Linked DNA regions of Homo sapiens: region 2 is linked to region 1. The links are contacts of gene promoters, found by promoter capture Hi-C in blood cells and fetal thymus (Javierre and others, 2016). All regions are on one chromosome and are shown on one strand. The core of a region is centred on a gene start or on the middle of the fragment in contact, and the rest is flanking DNA. Distances in the headings are between cores, read along the strand shown. Region 1 holds the start of LANCL2 (LanC like glutathione S-transferase 2). Region 2 overlaps NIPSNAP2 (nipsnap homolog 2).

Region 1 (4,741 bases), core at 279-2,778:
CTGCCTAGCACAAAAGTATTTGGGTTTTGCCATTTCTTTGTGTCTTTTTCACGTAAAACATATTCAAGAGATGTATGTTTTTCTGTTGTTAATCTGTTTTATGTCAATGTAACGCTCTGACCCACCTCGCGACACTAAGAAAGTCAAGTTTGGCCTCCCCTTACACCCGCTTCCCATTTCTGGGCACACAGACAGTACGGACAATGCTTCTTTGTCGGCGAGAGCCCAGGGACCAGATATGGCCAAGGAAATCCAGCCTCCAGGCCACTTCTGAGGAGCAGGTAGCCGGCGGAGCGCTCCGCCGCGCAGGGGCGGGAGGTGTCCGCGGGCCTCACGAGTGCACAAGCCCGCATTGCGAAGCGCCGCTCGGGCCAAGAAGGAAAGCGCACTGTCCGCGTATTTCAAAGGCGCGTTGGGGCCAGGAGGGCCGAACTGCTGGAACGTGGTTCATGCAGCTGAAGCCCACGGACCCTAAGCGCGGCTCATCGGGAAGGCCCGGAGACAGGTGCTAGGCGCTATCATCCCGCGCCCTCCCAAGCCCGGCGCGCGCCTGTGACGTCACGCCTGGCGGAAGGTGGACGCTACCACCGCCGCGCTCCCCCTCCGGCGCCTCTGCGGCCAGGCCGCCGACTCACCTTCCCGTCCTGATGAAAAGGGAGGCCGGGCTCATCCGTGGTCGCCGGGGGACGAACACAGCCTGTCTCTTCGGCCGCTCCGGAGGCGAGCAGCGCCCCGGCGGCGGCCTCGTAGTCCGGGAAGGGGTTGACGAACGCCCGTTCCTCCATTTCTGCCTCCCCTCCCAGGTGGAGCTTCAGCCTCTTTGACATGGTCTCGCCCATCTCCGCCGCGGTACGGCGCGCGGGCGGGGACAAACCTCCTGTCCCGGCGCTGCAGCTCGCCCCGCCGCCGCCTCCTCCGAGGGCCCGCGCAGAGAGCGTCCTCTAGGAGGAGCGAGGCCGCGCGCTGGCGGGAGGAGCGGGGCGTCTGAGCGTGCACTGCCTCGTCGCGGGCTGCTCGCACATCAGGCGGCCGCAGAGGCGGTGGGCGCTGTGCCTCTGCCCTGTTCCTGGCGCCTTTGCCCTGCTCCCGACGGAGAGGAGCGGGCTCGCGGGAGCGCCCAGCGGCTCACAGCCTGCTCGCGCCTCCTCGCACCTTCCCCGTGGCCCGCAGAGCCCGTCCGCGGCGACGCGCACGGCCGGGGCTGGAGTCCCGGGGTGGGGATCGCTGCGCCCGGCCAGCCCCCTCCGCGATTTCCAAAGAAAACCGAACGCCCGCTAGGGCCACGCTCCCGCGGGGAAAACCTGTAGAGAAGAGGTCGCTGTCACTCAAGGTGTGTGCGCGTCGCCGACCGGGGCGAGCTCAGCCCCTGGCGCGCCGTCGTCAGCCTGCATTTCACCGGCCCCTGCTGCGCCAGCCCAAAGGAATAGCAGCAGTTCTTTGTTTGATATTAAGAAGAAAAAAAAAATCTCTTCTAAAGAACAGAATTTCAAAACAGTCTAAAACACTGCAAGGCTAGTCTCCGAGGGATGGGGGAGGGAGACAGTCCCTCCTATTCATCACTGTTGGAGGGGGGTGTCTGGGAGGAGGAGCCACAGGCCTTTTTTTTTTTCTTTTTATGTTTTATGTTCACTCCCTTTGTTTTGAATAAATGGACATCTTTGATACCGGGACATAAAATGAAAGCATACTTAATTATCCAAACATTTTATCGACCAGAAAGAGTCCTCCAGTGTTAATTGGCAAAGATCATAGTATGTATTATAAAAAGGACACAAGCAACCAGATCTTTACATTTATGTAATCGTGATGTGGTTTACTTCAGTCTTCATTGGTTCTCTTTATTTTTATTTGTTTGGACCAAATACGTGTAATGATTTCTGCTCCTTGAGGAAAATGTCTTATTTCCGTTTTCTTCCGCTCAGTAAACGTTGATTGAGCACCAAATGGTACTAGGTGATGAAGAAATAAGAGATTAAAAAGATAGTTTTGGCTCTCTGGGGATTCCCAGTTATTGGGTGAGAAAAGCAAGGATTACAGCATAGCTGATGTAGGTGCTTTTCTGGAAGCAAGCAAAAATACACGTTAATGTAAAAAGTGACATGATGAAGAAAAACACAGTGCCGAGCACAGGGAAGGCTCGGTTCCTCCTGCCTCCGTGGCCTCGGTGGAATGATGTGGGAAAGTCTGGCTTCCCACTACCTCTTCTAGTGTCCCCCCAACCCCACAGGGCTGGACATGTGAAACACACCCCACCAAGAACATGACCATGGGAAGGTACAGTGTAGAAGAAAATCATTTTAAAGGGGGTACTCAGCATAACTATCTTCAAAGTTCAGGGAAACAGAACAGATACAACAGGATGAGTGTTATAGCAGCATCCCTTAGCTCCACTTTCCTGCTTTCCCCTTTCCTGGGGTCTTTTCTCCCACCAAATTTTCATACCTAGACGGTGTAGGAAAATCCACTCCAGGAACTACTGATGCCGACATGCTCTAGGAGCCATCCTTATCCCACCACAGGGACTTAACTAGACAAAATAACCCACGGTGATATTCCCCAAAGTCTGGGGAACTATCACGCCTTGGACAGGTACAGCAGAAACGTCCACTGCGGGCTTTGTTAGGCTAAGCCTAGTGAATTCTCAGCTCTCCCTACCCAGGAGGGAGGTGAAGATTGTCTCTTCTTCCTGCAGTCTGCTGGTGGATAACTGGCAACTGTTGGCAAGTACAGAAACCTGTCCTAAAGAAAACCAATATTTTCAAAAGCTGAAAAATCGAAACCCAATTTAAGGAGTCGGCATATTTTCCTAAATGCTCTCTTATCGGCAGATCCCCTGCCCTCCTGGACAGCTCACTGACACTATTTTATGGAGAAGTGGTAGGTTCCCTTTCTTCAGCCTCCTGTCCCCTGGGGGTTTTTTAATGCAGAGCACAGGGGATTCCCTTCTGCGGCCCTTTTACACCCAGGGCTATCTTCCCCCGTGGCCACTCTTGAGCTCTTGAGTAGTACAGAGACCTTGGTCAGTGCCTTGAAATTACAACTTTATTTTCCTTAGGACAAGCCAAATTCTTAGGACACCCTCCCCACTCTTCTGTGTAAGAGAAGGGCAAGAGGACATACATGCCGGCCCAAAGCACACCCAAGGAGTCGTGAGGGCCCCTGGCAACTGACCTTTCAAAGGAAGACATAGTCCAAGGACACGATGTGCGAGAGGGCGGCATTGTGGCACCACGTTGAGATCTGGGGGGGCACTGGGCGGAGCAGCACCTGGGGAAGCCGCCGGGTGCGGTGCTTGGGTCACGGCCCTCCGGGGAGGCCACCGGGTGCGGTGCGGGGCAGGGCCCTACGGGGTGGCCGGCGGGTGCAGAAGTTGCTACCAGGGGAGGGTGTGCTCATCCTTGAAGATCTGAGTCAAAATAGGCAGTGTCATCCTCTTCCATTCCCCAGCACCTAACGTGGCTGCCCCAAAAGCCGCTGAGCTTGAGCTCCCTTCTAAAGCCAAAGCAGGCAGCAAGGCGGAGAGGAACCCCGGAGGTGGGAGGTCACTGGGGGGCGGGGAGGGTGGTTTCGGGGCACAGGGCAGCGGTGACTGCCCGCAGGGGCAAGCCCGGGCTCCCCGCCTGCGGCGGCTCCCCACCAAGTGGGGCCTGAGACAGGAGGAGCTGAGGTGGGGGCGCCTCCCTGAGAAACGCCACTTCTTATCTGGAGCGCCCCAAAGGTGAGAGGAAGACGATGGAAAACCTGGGGCACGAGGGCTCTCACTGTGGGGTTCAGCCATCGCCGAGCCCTGAGGCCCCGCAGACAGCCCCGGCTCTCCTCTTTACCCCAGAGTCAGGTACCAGCCTCTGGCCCGGGAACCAAGCCTCAGGTGCTTGCAGGGCTAGAATGTGTGGTTCTGAGAACTGCGTGGTGCTGGGTCAGAACCACGTGGGGCCTGTATTATGTATTTCAAAACTTCACGCTTCCCTGCAGCCTCAACACGGAAAACAGGCAGTGAGCCCCCCTCTCCCCCACCCCGCCCAGGTGACCAGATGCCCCAGTGTGGTGAGCTGGCCCTGCCACAGTTCCCCTTCCTGCCCTCCCGGACTGTGACCTAGTGACAGAGATTCTTTGTTCTACCAAACTAGTCAGGTTCCTGAATCTCCTCCAAGGCCCATCTGCACACTTCCTTATAAAATCCAGTTTTAGCAAACAGCCTTGCTAAGTCACTTTAGGAAGAACCACCCCCTAATATGTGATCACCCCCATTATTTGACCAGGTTCCCTATCCCTCACTATCCCCTAGGTGATGTTGGATCAACCTGGCCTGTGTTCAGCAAGAAGCCTATTAGGTAAGATTAGTCAGTACCCACCTTCCCCTTCATGTTATCTCTTAGTAATTTTCCATCCAGTCACCCCCACCTTGCTTCTTGGCTATCCATTTCCACTTGTATTGGGAATTAAGCTCAATCTTTCTCCCACACTGCAAAATCCCATCGTGGTGGTCCCCATACCGTTAAGGTCTCAATAAAGTCAGCCTTACCCTGTGCTGTGAATGGTGTGAATGTTTTTCCTCTCTAAAAGTCATGTTGAGACTTAATCCCCAGTGTGACAGTAATCCATTCGTGGACGAAGGGATTAGCAGGTTGTCTCGGAGTGGGACTGTGGCTCTATATGAAGAAGAGAGACCTGAGCTGGCACACTCAACCCCTTACCATGGGGTGCTCTGTGCTGCCTGGAAACTCTGCAGAGACTCCCCATC
Region 2 (4,266 bases), core at 22-2,521, 620 kb before region 1:
GCCTCCTTCATACCTCCAGAGGTGGACTGAAATGCATTTTAAAAGACAGTATACGTTTAGAATTTCATGATACTACTACTTGAAAATGTTCTAGATAGGTATAACGTTAACACAGCACAAAACTGTAGGCTGGGTGTGTGGTGGCTCATGCCTGTAATCCCAGCACTTTGGGAGGCTGAGACAGGCGGATCACTTGAGGTCAGGAGTTCCAGACCAGCCTGGCCAACATGGTGAAACCCTGTCTCTACTAAAAATACAAAAATTACCTGGGTGTGGTGGTGGGCACCTGTATTTCCAGCTACTTGGGAGGCTAAAGCAGAAGAATCGCTTAAACCCGGGAGGCAGAGGTCGCAGTGAGCCTAGATACTCATCACTGCACTCCAGCCTGGGCAACAGAGCAAGACTCTGTCTCAAAAAACAAAAAAACTGTAATGCCCCATGTTTTGGCCTATGAGTTACATCATAATGGTTCAATAATAGATTCAAACATTAAAAACAATTTTAAAACCATTTTCGCAATGAATTGTTGAAGAAACTACTTTAATCATAAAATTAGACTGAGACTTGGAAAGCTTTGATGATAAGAACAAGCATTAAATTAGAAAATTACTTAAGTGTTACATAAGGCTTAAGGAAGAAGTGTTTATTCCAAAGACTTCGCTTCCTACCAGCTTGGTCCTGCTCGCCATACCACGTGTTCCAAGTCCCCACCAAAGTACAAGGGTAGTGTTTATCTTCGTGAATCTTTGGCAACACCTCTTGACTTAAAGAGAAGAAACAGCAACACTAATTAAACAACCAGCAAAATTTGACCAGGTGGACAGCACCTGATCAGTAACAGGAAAAAGACCACCTACTCTGTGTTCTAACAACTGACCTTAGAACATCATGATAAAACGGCATGTGGAGTTAACCTTTTAGCTGAATTATGTTGTATTCCAACACCCTGCTGATCAGAAGCTTAGGTTTCTGATACCCCAACTATCTAGAAGAGTTGTTCAATCAGTATAATGATGATAAAGAAAAACCAAAGGTCCCAGGATTTTGGGAGCTATGGGTCTACTATTTTCCATTTGAGGGGAAAAAAAACGACATCACCAAAAAACATTCTGTTGGTTCCAAAGACAGAAGAATGAGAGACGGGGAATAGTAGAAAAGAACACAGAAGAAATAAGGAAGATGGAAAGGGAGGAAAGTAATGTTCAAGACAGAGGCAGACAACACAAGCAGTACCAGCAGGCAGAGGTAACAGGAGCAGAGAACAAGCTGGCCTTCAGGAAGGAGCAAGAAGACAGCTGGAACACAACATAGTCTGGAAGCGACTCCAACCTCCAATACTCCCCAAGGGCATCAACATGGCAGAAGAATAAAAATTAAAGATACAATGCGAAGCATAAATTATGTTCTACTCAATTCAATGGGCCAAGGGGATGGGAGGGGTGTCACGTAGTCTCGCACCGAACACACCAACCAATTCATTCCCGCGCATTGTGCAGGGACAGGGACAAAGCCATGACAGGTCACGGCAGTGTATGAATTTAACAGGGGTGTCAGAGTGGAGCTTGGTTCCATGGAAGCTTTCCTATGGTATAGATTCTAATGTACAGGGAAAGGCAAAGGGAAGAGTGTAACTGTTTTACACCAAGAGAAAAGCTAAAACCTGCACACTTTTTGAATAGAAAAATTATGATGAAAAAGTATCATACAGATTCAACAATGGATGCAAAAGGGGATCAAGGGCAAGAAATGGAACCTGTTCACACTATTTGCTGACTCTGATATTTAGCTAGTGATCACCACCAGATGCTGGGGCTACAGGACCAAGGGTATGTAAGTACCATGTGCTAACCGACTGCACCACTGGAGCTCCATACGACCAGGGATACATAAATGGTTAACAGAGAAAAGTTCCAAAACGGTCTAAGTCTAACTAACTGAAAACCCATACATCTTTATGACCCAGTATAGTGACCACATCATGTGTACTTTTGGAAGAGTAGCATTTACTTTTTAAATTAGGATCTGATATTAAATGTATCTGATGCGTGACTCATGAATGTTCAGAAATAACATGGGATCAATGAAAATCGAGGACAGGGAAAGAGGGATTCTGCTAGGGAAATGTATGTCCAACATTTCCTTTTCGTCGCATGACATGAGCAGGAATAGACAACCCTGCATTGGAGGCAGTGCCCAGGAGGAAGCCCAGTACACATGATTCAGGTGGGGTCCAGAAAGGGGCCTGGCAACGGGGCCCAGGTTTTTCACCAACACAAAGTCACGCATGGATTTGTAGCCACTCCTCTTTGCTGGGGACCCCAAACCTGCTCTTAGGAGCCCTGGCCTTACCTGAATGGAGATTGTAAGGCAGGCAGTACTTGTACCCAGAACTGGATGGGTTGGGCAGAATCCCATTATTGGGACCCCTAAAAACCAGGCAGGAGTTAAGTCTTTATGTTCTGCAAACAGGGAGCTGCTGAAAGTTTCAGAGAAAAGAAAAAACGTGATGAAAAAAGAAAACAGAACTCAAGCAGATCAATCTGACAAACTTTGGGGTAATGTATTGCAGGGCAGGAAGGAGACACAGGTATAGCTTGGAGCCCAGAAAGGTAGTCAGAAAAAAAGCTACTTGGGAATGGGGCTCGAGAGGCTTGGAGAGAGAGATGGAGAAGGAAACAAGAGAACCAAAATACATGTCCGATGAAGAATGCACAGCTTAGGTGACAGATTCACCACAGAGAACTAAGGAACGGGCTGAGTAAAACAAGGTGAGTGGCACAGACAGGGAAGTTGGAAGAGCAAGGTGATTCTACATGCTGGGTGTGAAGTGAGAGCACAACATCAAATAGAAATAGGAACAGACAGCCAGAAACCCGAGACAGGAGACGAAGTGATAAGACAGGACAAAAAAGGTAATCCAGGACAACATCGGCATAGGGAAAAATTCCATTTTTATGAGAAAAGACTTAGAAATAAACATCTGCTTTGTTTTAAGGGCATTTTTTAATAAAGAGAAATGTGCTGGAATGAGCAAGAAATTCAATGCTATTGTTACATTTCATAAGCTATCTTCAAAAACAAAACAATAAAAAACAAAAGGTTTTTCTTCTAAAAAGTATGCTGATTATAGGGACAAAATTGTTTGCTTTCTTAAGAACGTAGTAGATATTAAAGGTAAAAACAAAACAAAACTAAAAACCTTTTTCTTCACATTTGCTCACCATGGGTCATTAAAATACTATTTCTGTTAACTTAAAAGCTGGTAAGCTTAGTTCTCCCCTTTCGTCTTAAAGTTTACAAATTCTGTAAGCAGGTTTAGATCGCAAATCATAGGAGAATCAGCGGAAGGGACTTGGATCCTGGAGAACAGAGGAGTTGGGAAGAAATGGCAGCTATGTTCAAATACATACAGGACTCTCACAGGGCAGTTTTACTTAGGGGAATCAATGAAGGACTCAGAGATGTGAATTCTTATTCCTAACACTCAGAGCTGTCCAGAGATGGAACTTACTTCAGGACAGGCAGTCAGGAAGGTCTGTGGAAAGGACTCCAGCACTGGATAAGTAGATGGACTAGACAGCCTGGCAAAGTTCCTCCAAACACAAGAGTCTGGTAACATTCTAAAGTCTGATAGCCTATATGATGATTTAGCTGTGTGAGTGCTTAAAATCAAAACGCCTTCGGCAATCCCACATGAAGCTCAGTTTAAGAGCCTCTGAATGTTCAGCTTCAAAAGAGAGGGATGAAAGATCTCTCTCTATGCTATCAAGTGTTAGTGGAATTAACTAACAAATAAAGTCATTATTTTTCCCCAAGTAAAGGATAGTTTGGTATACACACCAAATTTTGTTGTATGCTTCTAGGCATTCCGGTTTAACATTGTGAACTGAAACAAAAGAAAATTCAACGATAAACTTAGGAACAAAGGGGAAAAAAAGTCAACTATGAAGATAGCAAACCTGTCACTCACACTGTAATTTGTATAGATTGCTTGTTTCCTTTTTGGCTAGGAGATTGGAGTGGGCATCTTTTCTTGGATCAACTTTCCGGACAAATAAGGATTTTAGCCAGCTGTCTTCTCGAGATCTGTTGCTGGAAGATGTCCATGTCCTATGGAATAACAAAGGTGTTGTCACGCAGTATACTGTTTTCATATATCCATCAGTTAATCTGGCAAACACAGTGAGCAGCTATTCTAGGCACCGTTCCAGAACCTGGGCTACCAAAGAATGCCTGCTTTCCATGACAACAGCATGCACTCCAAGA

The links. The method cuts DNA at HindIII sites, captures the fragments that hold promoters and counts their contacts. A CHiCAGO score of 5 or more calls a contact.
Region 2: a fragment that was not itself captured here is called in contact with the fragment with the promoter of LANCL2 in region 1 in 1 of 17 cell types (naive CD4 T cells); the score reaches 5.0 in naive CD4 T cells.

Annotation. Positions count from the first base shown.
Region 1 is chr7:55,362,124-55,366,864 of GRCh38, reverse strand. It overlaps LANCL2 (LanC like glutathione S-transferase 2), which reads right to left and starts at 1,528. Exons shown (of 9, transcript NM_018697.4): 1 at 636-1,528. The coding sequence starts at 839. RefSeq lists enhancers at 64-303, 334-793, 1,414-1,603 and a silencer at 924-1,343. The HindIII fragment of the contact is 19,398 bases long and covers 1-4,741 here.
Region 2 is chr7:55,977,970-55,982,235 of GRCh38, reverse strand. NIPSNAP2 (nipsnap homolog 2) reads right to left here. Exons shown (of 10, transcript NM_001483.3): 2 at 3,971-4,110; 3 at 3,841-3,886; 4 at 669-763; 5 at 1-26. Among named protein-coding and RNA genes, the nearest start is that of NIPSNAP2, 16 kb to the right of the region's middle. The HindIII fragment of the contact is 617 bases long and covers 963-1,579 here.